Regions from separate parts of the Homo sapiens genome. Here region 2 is linked to region 1. Evidence: promoter capture Hi-C in human tissues and cell types (Jung and others, 2019). All regions are on one chromosome and are shown on one strand. The core of a region is centred on a gene start or on the middle of the fragment in contact, and the rest is flanking DNA. Distances in the headings are between cores, read along the strand shown.

The links. The method cuts DNA at HindIII sites, captures the fragments that hold promoters and counts their contacts. A contact is called where the count stands out against the background at its distance.
Region 2: the fragment with the promoter of UNC13B here is called in contact with a fragment that was not itself captured in region 1 in 1 of the 25 tissues and cell types used here (heart right ventricle).

Annotation. Positions count from the first base shown.
Region 1 is chr9:35,742,976-35,749,348 of GRCh38, reverse strand. It overlaps GBA2 (glucosylceramidase beta 2), which reads left to right and starts at 121. Exons shown (of 17, transcript NM_020944.3): 1 at 121-1,003; 2 at 4,643-4,734; 3 at 4,937-5,052. The coding sequence starts at 645. It overlaps RGP1 (RGP1 partner of RAB6A GEF complex), which reads right to left and starts at 62. Exons shown (of 9, transcript NM_001080496.3): 1 at 1-62. RefSeq lists a silencer at 23-422. The HindIII fragment of the contact is 5,426 bases long and covers 1,009-6,373 here.
Region 2 is chr9:35,157,104-35,163,275 of GRCh38, reverse strand. UNC13B (unc-13 homolog B) reads right to left here and starts at 1,267. Exons shown (of 40, transcript NM_001371189.2): 1 at 971-1,267. The coding sequence starts at 992. RefSeq lists a silencer at 1,272-1,401 and an enhancer at 4,908-5,461. The HindIII fragment of the contact is 10,387 bases long and covers 1-6,172 here.

The DNA of each region.
Region 1 (6,373 bases), core at 2,472-4,971:
CCTGGCTAGGTACGCGGCGGCGGCGGCGGCGGCGGCGTCCGCTGGGCGGTAGAGGCGGGACTTCCCTTCGGTCCCCCACCCTCCGCGGAGTCCCTTCCGGCCGGAAGCGCCCGGCAGGCCAGACCGGAAAGGGCTCGGGTCATCCCGGCGCCCAGGGTCACCTTCCCACGGGCTGGCACCTGGGCGCGGGCGCTGCCCCGGAGCCGGCCGGCGGGACCTGGCGCCCAATCCTGGGGGACCCGGTGCCGTGGCCCAGGGGCCGGGCCGAGGTCCCGGGGGCGGTGCCTTGCGGGCCCGTCCCGGGGCGGTGCCTGGTGGGCTGGCCCCGCGGCTCCTCCCCTCTCTGCGGGCCCAGTCGCCCTTTGGCCGGGCGAGCTAATCGTCGGCTCAATGACGACGAGGCCCGACCCTTCCCGTCCAGGACCTACAGAGACAACCGAAGGAGAGCCCAAGGCGGCTTCTTTGCTGTCGCCGCCCCCACTGAAGCAAGAGCTCCCCGGCTCCACTGAAACACCAGCTCATTTAAGCTTTCCCCAACGCCCGGCCCTCCGGGACGATACCTAACAACGACCGGCGCCCGCATCTGGAATAGGCTGGCGAGATACTTAGTATCCGAGGGCTCGGGACTTGGCGCCATCGAGGTCATGGGGACCCAGGATCCAGGGAACATGGGAACCGGCGTCCCAGCCTCGGAGCAGATAAGCTGTGCCAAAGAGGATCCACAAGTTTATTGCCCTGAAGAGACTGGCGGCACCAAGGATGTGCAGGTTACAGACTGTAAGAGTCCCGAAGACAGCCGACCCCCAAAAGAGACGGACTGCTGCAATCCGGAGGACTCTGGGCAGCTGATGGTTTCCTATGAGGGTAAAGCTATGGGCTACCAGGTGCCTCCCTTTGGCTGGCGCATCTGTCTGGCTCATGAGTTTACAGAGAAGAGGAAACCCTTTCAAGCTAACAACGTCTCCCTAAGCAACATGATAAAGCATATAGGCATGGGCTTGAGGTGAGTAGACCCCATTGCCTAGAATGCCTTTGGCTTCACTTTGTTCCAGCTCAAAACTTCTAGCAGAGGTGGGAAAGGGCAAGAAAGCAGTTGGGCTTCTTGTCTGAGTGAAGCGGTCCCTATCCCTGGCATATTTTAGGCCTGTGGTTTTGGACCGTGAGACCAGGTCACATCTCTTTGCAACACCCTTCCCTCCCAGTGTTTTGTCTTTTCAGAAGGAAAGGGTAGGAACATTTGGTCATGCAATCAGCCTTTCCCATTCAGGCTCTTCTCACATACTGGTTTCCAATGACTTCCCTTTGGGATTAGCTATACTTTGTGGCAAGGTAGGAAAGGATAATCTGGCTGCTGTGATACTAACACAATGTTGTTTTATTTGGGGGTGGGGGGGTCTCAACCCCTTATTTCCCACAAGCAGCTGGGGCATTCTCTGTACCTCATTAGACACACTGTTAGAGTCCCAACACTACTGCTTCTTTCTTCAAGCTTTAGCTCCAGGGAGTAGGTAAGAAGAGCCTCCCTGCCCTCACCTCTGAAGTGATGAGAAGGTGCTGTCATTCTGTTCTGGGATAGAGAGCTCTTGATATTAAGTCATTTATCAGAGAGGCACTGCCATAGATGTAGAACCCATCTAGATCCCCACTGAGTTCAAAGACTAGTGATGAGGAGCCAGACCCATTAACAGGAACAGGTGGATGTGAGGACAGAAAGCATCACCCTGAGGTCATCCTGACTCAGTCTACACAATACACACAGAACTGTGGAGGGAGGCATAAAGCTTGGGAAACCCTGCCCTTACAGTTTCTAGAGTAGGAGACCCTTCATTTCCCCAGTCAGTGCTGTGGGGCTGTGATGGGGAGATCAGTTATCTAACCCTAGCCCTGGGGAGTGGGAAGGGCCTGATGCTGCCTGCACATCTGGCTTTGTTGGTGCCTGTGGGTAGCCTGTAGCAGAGAAGAATCATCCCTCCAGGCTGCTTCTGGAATCAATTCAGTCCAAGTTTGACCCCAAAAGTTTTTGCATCAAAATAGGATCTAGTGTACATAGAGAAGTACACTGAGTTGCATGTGGTAGGAACAATGAGATCAAGAAAAGATGGGCATCCTAGCCTCTTAGCCCTTAAATATGAACTGAGTCATAGAGGCCTGAAGCTGTGCTCAACCCCCTGGACCCTGGCTCCCCATTCCAGGATAGAGTGGGGGGTACTGATACAAGGCTTTTGGAATAGGATGAGTTCCTATGAGGAGAAAGCACAGGTGAGACAAGAATTCTAAGTGATAACTCTTGAGTTGAGGTTGAAATTGTGGAGAAGGCCAAATAGGTCAGGAATGGCCAGCTACCATATTAAGGGAGTAAGAGAGCTCCTAAGATGGAGCTGAACTGTGGGCACTCTGACCAGGAGCTCTAGCAAGACAGAATTCTCTGGGTCTTACCTTCGTAAGAACTCAATTTCAATTGTTCTCCCTTCCAGCCAGAGTCCACTCATTCAATAAATATTTATTGAGTGCTTGTTCCATGCCAGATAGTCCTTTGTTCTGTCTGTCCTCATAGATTGCAGTTACTCTCCCTGGTTGCCCTAATCCTCGGCCACACCCTCCCTCTACCAGTCCTTTCTGGTCTCTAGTTTCAAAGTCCGGTTTTCTCTAAGCTGGCAGAGAGGATTCTCTGCCTTCCTGTCATCCCATCCTTTGTCTTCCCTCTTCTTTCCACCCCTAGAATGTGCTGTCCCTTTTTATTTTATTATTATTTTTTTTTTGAGACAGTCTTGCTCTTGTCACCCAGGCTGGAGTACAATGGTGCAATCTCAGCTCAGTGCAACCTCCGTCTCCTGGGTTCAAGCGATTCTCCTGCCTCAGCCTCCTGAGTAGCTGGGATTGCAGGTGCCTGCCACCACAGCTGGCTAATGTTTTTGTATTTTTAGTAGAGACGGGGTTTCACCACATTGGCCAGGCTGGTCTTGAACTCCTGACCTCACGTGATCCGCCCACCTCGGCCTCTCAAAGTGCTGGGATTACAGGTGTGAGCCACCGTGCCTGGCCGCTGTCCCTATTCATTAATCACATTTCTTCTCCTCTGCTCCAGTCTGTTATCTCTCTTGTGCCCCATCATTTGTATGTTCATTCATCTGTAAAATTGGCAAATATGCATTGACTGCAGACCATATGTCCTACCCTGTGCTTGGACCTGAGGGTAATATTCAGCTAGTCTTTGTCATTGTCCCTTTCCCCAAGGAACTTAAAAGTATGTCAGCCTCACATGAGGAACATTGAAATAACAAGGCAATGTCTGATTAGGAATTGAGATAACAGTTTGTATATATGAGTAATAATCATACCTGTACTTTATGGCTTTCTTATCTATTATGTCATTTGATCTTTCAACCATTTCATTAGATAGCTAGAGCAGGTGGTATCCCCATTTTGTAGATGAGGAAACTGGGACTTAGGGGTTACTTACCCAATTATTTGGTTAGAAGTGGTGTGACTGAACAGTAGGCATAATGTGGCAGTAGGCAGGAGAGTGGAAATGGGAAAGAGTCTGGCAGGGCAGGGGCTACTTAGTGAGGACCCATCTGGAATGAGAATTTGTAGGAAATAAGATTAGAAGATAGGCTGGGACAGATGTCAGAGCCTTGAAAACAGAATCGTTTGCCTATTGAAAACAGCCTCAATCATTTGCCTCTTGGATATAGGGCTGTACCAAGCCCAGGAAAATGTTGGGATTTTTTGAAGGCTTTACCAAGAGCAAAATCAGAAAGCTTCACAGTTTAAATGTTGAATTTAAAAAAAAAAAAAAAAAAGGCTTGAGAGGAAATGTCCAGAAATAAATATAAACACTGATTGTCTATGGGTGAGATTATTTTTTTCCCCCTTTCACCTTTCATAATTAGAAAGAAAAATGATCATTTTAAAAAGAAGAAAGGCCAGAAGCGGTAGCTCACGCCTCTAATCCCAGCACTTTGGGAGGCCGAGGCGGGCGGATCACCTGAGGTCAGGAGTTCAAGACCAGCCTGGCTAACATGGTGAAACCCCATCTCTACTAAAAACACAAAAAAATGTGCCAGGCATGGTGGCGGGCACCTGTAATCCCAGCTACTTGGGAGGCTGAGGCAGAAGAATTTCTTGAACTTGGGAGGCGGAGTTTGCAGTGAGCCAAGACCGAGCCACTGCACTCCAGCCTGGACAACAAGGAACGAAACTCTGTCTCAAAAAAAAAATAATAAATAATAAAAATAAAGATAAGAAAGTTATTCCCAGCAGCCTATGCCTGTTTTGGAGGTAGGGGATTGGGGGCGGAGGCTGTAGGCCAGGAAACCATAAATGGTCCTTTCAGCACGTCAGACAGAAGCTCCTGATGTTGGAAATAAAGCAGTGGTGGTGGTGCTAGAGAGGTAAGGAGAGATCAGAAAGCCCCTTCTGAGGAGAACAAAGGAGAGAAACAAAGCCACTCCTTCACTTCAGCTGGGGTGACTGGGAAGATGAAGGGACCTTGAACTGTATAGAAATCAAGAGGAAGAAAGGTTTGAAAGCAGATGTCCTTGGGACATTTAATGGGAGGTCACAGAGAGAGGCAGGTGACTCAGCCTGTGAACAGCTGCCCACCTGCCCCCTTCCACTCACATTGCCTCTTGCTCCTCAGGTACCTGCAGTGGTGGTACCGGAAGACCCATGTGGAAAAGAAGACACCTTTCATCGACATGATCAATTCTGTACCCCTAAGACAGATTTATGGTGAGCCCCACCCCATCTCTGCTCTGCTCAGAGAAGGCCTAGCCTCCAGGTCTACCACAGTTAGGAAGAGACTTCCAGCTTATGCAAATTGCACTGTTCCATCCCCTAGGTTTTCAGAGGAACCAGGCTTTATAGTCTAGAAAGTTAGAAATGGGCTTATTTTCCTCTCCCAATACCCCACTAACCACCCTGATTTCTCTAGGTTGTCCCTTGGGTGGCATCGGGGGAGGCACTATTACCCGTGGCTGGAGAGGCCAGTTCTGTCGTTGGCAGCTTAACCCTGGAATGTATCAGCACCGGACAGTCATCGCTGACCAAGTAAGAGCCAGGAGGTGGAGAGGCCAGGACAATACCTCCCCAGGCCAAGAAGGAAGGACCTCTTGGCTAGTGTAGAAGGTAGCAGTTAGATGTGAATAAGATTCAATCTAATAAGTACTCTCGGGATGCTTCCTGTGTGCCCAGCCCTGAGCTAGGATATACCGTAGGAATAAGACACACACAAGCACACATTCCTTGAAAGAGTAAACAGATCTGGCATTTCTCTAGTAAATGCCTCCTGTCTACCTCACTGCCCCAACCCAACTAGCTGAGGCAGCCCCCAACCACAGAGAATGCAGAGAATTCCCAAATCACTTAACCTGCCTGAAAGAACATTTTGTAGGACTGGAAGGGAAAAGAAAACCCAAAGTCTATAAACTCATGGGAAAAAAAGACACGTAGTACAAGGTTCCTCACCCTGATTGAGGAACCTTCACCAAAGTTCAGCTCCTCTGCTGATCACTCCCCTGGAGGTCTCCTGGCTTAGGGTCTAAAAAGCTCCTTCTCTCCCAGGCTTAGATCTCTAGCCTTCTTCCCTCTTCTGAAGCTTCACTTTTTTCCTTTTGCTCCTGCATCACATCTGGGCCTTAAATTGCCAGAAGTATGTGTCCTGCCTCTCATCATCTCTCTCTAGTTGACCGCCCCTTTAGAGTTGCCTAGGAAGTTCCTCTTTCTTGGCTCCAGCATTCAGCCTCATCTTCAAAGGAAAAATGACTAGCAAATCTTTAGTCCAATTAATGACAATACCCTTCCTGGTTCACGTTTACCAGCCCTGCCCATGTCCCAAGATCCCTCTCTGCCTCATCCCTTAGGTATCCTGAGGGGAATGGCTTCCAGAATTGTGACTCTACAATTAAAGTAATTATTGCATGCTTAACATGTGCTAGACACTGTGCTAGGCTCTTTGTATACTGTTTAATATTAAAAACAATCCTACAAGGGAAGTACCACTATTATGCTCATTTTGCAGATGAGGACACTAAGATCCAGAGAGGTTTAGTAACATGCGCAAGGTCACAAGGTTGGTAAATGGAAAGGTTGGGATTCAGAACCATTTCTTTCTGGGGTGAAGAGCTTGTGGTCTTAACCATTATGTACCATTCCAACAAAATGAAAAATTATTTTATACAGTTGTCCCTCAGTATCCATGGGGGGTTGGGCCCAGGACCTGCTATCCGAGGATGCTCAAGTCTTTGATTTGAAATGGCTTATAGTATTTGCAAATAACCATTGCACATCCTCCTATATACTTTAAATCATCTGTAGATTACTTATAATACCTCATACATTGTTACATAAACCCTTGTTGTGCCGTACAGTA
Region 2 (6,172 bases), core at 18-2,517, 580 kb after region 1:
AAAAGATATCAGGTAAAGGCTCTAGTTGATAAATGCTCTCTCATTCATAATCAAGACACATCAGATATGATAGGCTGTAACCTGAATTTCCCGAGATCAAATTCAATGGCTAATCCAAACCCTGTGTTTTCCTGATCAGATAATCTCTCTGAAGTCACAGTACTTGCATTCATTCAAAACCAGCATTAAGCTTCTACTACGTCAGACACCAGGAATACAAAAACTAATAAGAAACAGTCTCTACCCACATAGAACTTAGTTCGCGTACCATGCCTCATCTTAAACCCCAAAGCTCTTGCTTTAAGATATCTTCTTAGATGGGTCAAGTGTCCTCAGGGGAAAAGCAATAATGGCCCTTCACCTTGAGTTACTGTGAGGCAAGCTAAAATAAAAATAAAAATAAATCATACCTCTTATCCTCAAAAGCAGTCACCACATCCTCCCAAGTGGAACAGAAGAATAATCTTAGCCTATACTACCGGTTAGTGTTCAGGGAAGTGGCAGGGGACAAGACAAGCAATAGAAGGGATGTGACAGCTGTACCACTAACGCATTCAAAGTGTGATAAAAAGAACCTGCTACTAAGCATACTGTAGCGTTACGGTGCGAGGAGGAGGAAAAGAATGAGAGGCTGCCCACCATTCACAGGCACCAACCATCCGCGGTCTTCTAACTCGTCCACTCTCACTAGAGAACCCCAGTCACTGTTTAATAGGATCTGAGCCTGCAGTCCAACAACATTGTCACATGGCTACCAGAATGGAGAGCTAATCGTCCCTTGCAGGAGCTTGGGGGAAAACAAGAAAGTGGAAAGAACTCAAGTGATTGTTAAGTGATTGCCAAAATAATAGACCCCCAAAGCACGGACGGGATGTAAAGTTTGGGTGAGACGGTCACCGGACGTCCACTGGAAGGGTGCGGGGACCTCTACGCCGACACCCCGCCTCCCCGCCTCAGTCCGCGCACTCACCGCGCACGCAGAGCAGTGACATGGCCGAGGATCGGGCAAGCCTCTGCCGCGCCCCAGCCGCGCCGGACCGCTCCCTCTTTCCTCTCAGCAGGTGCCGCGACTGCTCTCGTTACCGGCCCCACGGGTCTGGCAGCTCCTCATGGTCCCGGTCGCAGGTAGCGTCCCGCCGCTGCCTCGGACCCGCCCCAAATCTCACCGTCTGAGCGAACTCCGGGTAGCGGTGAGTACCGGCCGGCAGGCTGGGGACTGGGCGCGGCACAGCGACGCCATCGCTGGGAGGTAGGAGCTGCCGGGACTCCCTCCCGTCATTCCACCCGGGATCCGCGCGAGCGCCTGGGCGGAGCCAACCCGTGGTGCCCCGCCCCCCAGCCAATTAACTCACGCCCAGTCCACCGACCCCGCCCCCCCCCGCGAGCACGTAGGAGGCGGGGTCCCCTTCCTCCTTTCTTTCTTGCGATCCTGAAGGAAGCTCCGCCCACTAATCAGGCTTACTGCAGGGAGCAAGGGGTTGACCCTCAGTTGTGTGACGCGAGAATGGAAGCCCTCTGTTCCTCCTGCATGAGCGGGGCTTCCACCCAAGAACAGATTCTTTTCATTGAAGGATTTCCACTGGACTTTCTTAGAGTCTAGCGGTCATAGCTGACAGCCTGTAATTTTAAGTTAACGAAGTCGCACCGCACAGCAAAGTTAAGTTTTGTTTAGCAACTAGGGCAAAAGACAAAACTGAGTGGGCATAAAGTATGTCTGGAGACCTCAGTTCTTATCTAGACCGTTTTTTATGCTCATCATTGTATCTCCAATGTCTGGAATAGTGCCTAGTGTATGGTAATCAGTCCGTAAATATTTACTGAATGAAGGATGGTAACCACGGAGGGATTGTGAGTGGAGATACCTCTGATCTTTGACAAATCTCCTATCCATGCTTGGTACCAACATGAGCTAACTCCATGGCTCAAACCAACAGGACAATTTGCTAAGGTCTAGGAGCACCCCCTCCAGAGAATCCCTGATCTCCCAAAATTTGGTCGAGATCTAAAGTTCATTTTGTTGTACAACTCCCTCTATTATTATTATTATTATTATTATTATTATTATTATTTTGGAGTTTTACTTGCTTCCAACAAGGAAGGCAAGTTTTCCTGCTTCCATGACGAGGGAAGGCAGGTAACTCTTTTATGGAGTTTGAGCTCACTTCCAACAGGGAAGATGAGGGGTTTTTTTCCTACTTCTGGGATGGTAGACAGCCGTTTTCAGCCTGAGACGCACCCCTAGGTAAGTAGCTGAATAGGGATTTTTGTCTTGGCTAAAGTTAACAACCAGCTGGTCTTAATTTCTGCTTACCATTAGAGTGCTCAGTGATCATATTGTTGGGTTTTTTTTTATTTTGTTTGTCTTTTTCCCATTGACCAACTCTACTTCACTTGGTCAAATCCAAGTGAGAATTCCAAATTATGGGTAACAAGGCCTATCTAATTTGAGTAAAATTCCTCACAGCTGCAAAAGAAAAAACAAACAGAAAACAAAAAACCATGTATTTGGTTTCTGTGTTTGCTTCCTGGTCTTAAAAATTAAACTGTTCTTAGGCCGGGCGCGGTGGCTCACACCTGTAATCCTAGCACTTTGGGAGGCCGAGGCGGGCGGATCACGAGGTCAGGAGTTCAAGGCCAGCCTGGCCAACATAGTGAAACCCTGTCTCTACTGAAAATACAAAAAAAATTAGCCGGGCATGGTGGCGGGTGCCTGTAATCCCAGCTACTCGGGAGGCTGAGGCAGGAGAATTGCTTGAACCAGGAGGCGCAGGTTGCAGTGAGTGGAGATCGAGCCATTGCACTCCAGCCTGAGCTACAGTGTGAGACTCTGTCTCAAATTAAAAAAAAAAAAAAAAAAAATTCAATTGTTCTTTTGTTTACTTTTCTTCCACCCTATACCTCCTTCACCCTTTGCCATCTGCATTACCAAAAAATCGAGAGAAGGCTTCTAATGACTTGAACCTCTTTAAAGAATTTAGGCCGGGCGCCATGGTTCACGCCTGTAATCCCAGCACTTTGGGAGGCCGAGGTGGGCGGATCACGAGGTCAGGAGTTCGAGACTCAGCCTCGCCAACATGATGAAACCCTGTCTCGACTAAAGATACAAAAAAAGTTAGCCAGGCATGGTGGCACGTGCCTGTAATCCCAGCTACTCAGGAGGCAGAGGCAGGAGAATCACTTGAACCTGGGAGGCGGAGGTTGCAGTGAGCTGAGATCGTGCCATTGCACTCCAGCCTGGGTGACAGGGCAAGACTCTATCTCAAAAAAAAAAAAAGAATTTAGAACAAAGGTGCCACTCACCCCCTTTTGGGGTGTTCTCTTGGCTTTGTGGGATTTCAAGAGTCATGGGCAGATTCTTCTTAGGTCTAAAGCTCTGTTTTCCTGTATTGCATGACCTGACCTTTTTGGCTTTGGGTGCCAGAGATGACCTTGCACTGTGAGAGGATTTGACCTTGGTGTGTATATTGTTGGAAAAGAGCTACAAAGTTACGGGTGGCTGAGCACAGTTTATAGGAAGTGGTTTTGGCTGTTTCCTTTTTTTTTTTTTTTTTTTTTTTTAATTTTCTCTCCTAGGAAGTCGTTGTTTAAGAATCCTAATTCTAGGCCAGGTGCGGTGGTTCACACCTGTAATCCCAGCACTTTGGGAGGCTGAGGCGGGCGGACCACTTGACCCCACAAGTTCAAGATTAGCCGGGCCTGGTGGTGTGCACCTGTAATCCCAGCTATTCGAAGGCTGAGGTAGGGCAATTGCTTGAACCAGGGAGGTGGAAGTTGCACTGTGCCGAGATCGTGCCACTGCACTCAGCCTGGGCGACAGAGCGAGACTCCATCTCAAAAAAAAAAAAAAATCCTAATTCTAGTTTGGAGATCCGTTCTGAAGGATCCTTTATATTGCTTTTTCTCCCAACATTAATCTCAATTCCGTTTGTCTGTGTGCATTTGCATGAGGAACTGAACTGTTGCTTTCATAGGTATATCAGAGACTGAGTTTTCTCAGCTCCAAAAAGAAAGGGCATTTGCCCCTCCCAACTGAAAGGTGCCCCTGAGTGACTGGGGACCTTGTGGGAGTGTCTGAAAGGTTGACCCCGAACGATGTGCAGTGGTCCTGCAGGGAAATCCCCAACAAAAATTAATTTAGGCCAGGTGCGGTCACACACACATAATCCTAGCATTTCAGGAGGCCGAGGCAGGCAGATCACTTGAGGTCATGAGTTCAAGACCAAGCCTGACAAACATAGCAAAACCGCATCTCTACTAATAATACAAAAATTAGCCAGGTGTAGTGGTGCGTGCCTGTAACCCCAGTTGCTTAGGAGACTGAGACGTAAGAATTGCCCGAACCCAGAAAGTGGAGGTTGCAGTGAACCAAGATTATGCCACTGCACTCCAGCCGGGGCAACAGAGTAAGACCTTGTCTCAAAAAAATATATATATATATATTTAATTTAAAAACTGGCTCATCCAGGAAACACATTGAAGGGCTGATCACCCAGTGTTGTGAGCCCTCTCAGAAGTCATAAACCTCTGGAGAGAGAAACTGAGACATGTAAGAGGGTGGAAACCATTCAGTGGTGGCACATTGTGGAGTCCTGCCCACAAGCAGCACGTGATGATCCACCACACAGAAACTCTAAGCCACAGCTCAGTTTCTCCTTTTAAGAAAAAAAGAAGTGGAAAACAAATAATCTAAGAATGAGAAGAAAACAAGGAGAATGACCCTCTTTTGAGCACTCTGTAGGTTTTATGGCACCTCTACTGCCAAAGTTTATGTAAAATGGAAAAAATATGGTCTTTGTGCACATTTACATTAAGAAAAAAGAGCCCTAAGGTCGACCTACTAATTATAGAGTTCCTAAGACCTCTTTTCTCTATTCTTTTCTGCCTGCTCTAAATCTGCCATTATTTTCTGTTAAGATAAAAACCACAGTTTAGATCCAACAAGTTCTTTTTGCAAACCGGTAAATTTGAATTTATCTCATAGCTAAAAGTTCTGAAGTAAAAGCTATAGGATGTGTGTGTGTGTGTATTTAAAAGGCTTTTATAATTTCTATAATTTTATGTTTAATTGGCCATTAAATCTGTTTCAATTTCCGTCTAGCACACCAGACTTTTTCTCTCCACACTTTATAATGTAAATTTTGCTGTTTGGAGTTCACCTGAGTTGTTTTCTTTAATATGCAAATTTAAGGCTATTTAGCTGACAACTGCCTAGGGTTGTGAAACAGGTTATCAAGAATCTGAAAGTAGCGGGGAGGGAGGAGGGGAAAAAAAGAATCTGAAAGCCTAAGGAAAAAAAACGTTTTTTATGAATCTATAAGAGGTACCTCTAGGCCAGGTGCAGTGGTTCACGCCTGTAATCCCAACACTCTGGGAGGCCGAGGTGGGCAGATCACCTAAGGTCAAGAGTTCGAGACCAGCCTGGACAACATGGTGAAACCTGTCTCTACTAAAAATACAAAAATAGCCAGGCGTGGTGGCACATGCCTGTAGTCCCAGCTACTCGGGAGGCCGAAGCAGAAGTATCACTTGAACCCAGCGGGTAGAAGTTGCAGTGAGCTGAGATCATGCCATTGCACTCCAGCCTGGGTGACAAGAGAAAAACTCTGTCTCAAAAAAAAAAAAAAAAAGATGTACCTCTATCAGCATGCCTAATGTGTCTATGTATTTATGTGTTGTGTACACAATGTTTCACTACTGAAAATATATAAAAGAGCTCTAATTAATTGGCGTAAGAAAATAAAAGTGCTTAAATCAAACACTTATTCAGGAAAAAATAAAATAGTCAAATGCTTTTTCAAGTTTACATAACTTAAGTAAAATCTTTACTAATGTTGATGAAAAAAATCAAACTCTGTAAAATATTTGAAGAGATTTATTCTAAGCCAAATATGAGTAACCATGGCCCATGACACAGCCCTCAGGAGGTCTTGAGAACATGAGCCCCAGGTAGTTGGGGTGCAGCTTGGTTTTATAAATTTTTGGGAGGCATGAGACATCAATCAAATACATTTAAGAAATACATTGGTTTGGTCCAGAAAGACGGAACAACTCAAAGGGGGGCTTCCAGACTATAGGTAAATTTAAACATTTTCTGGTTGAAAATTGGTTGAGTTTGTCTAAAGACCAGGGATCATAGAAAGGAAATATTTAGGTTAAGAAAAAACACTGTGGA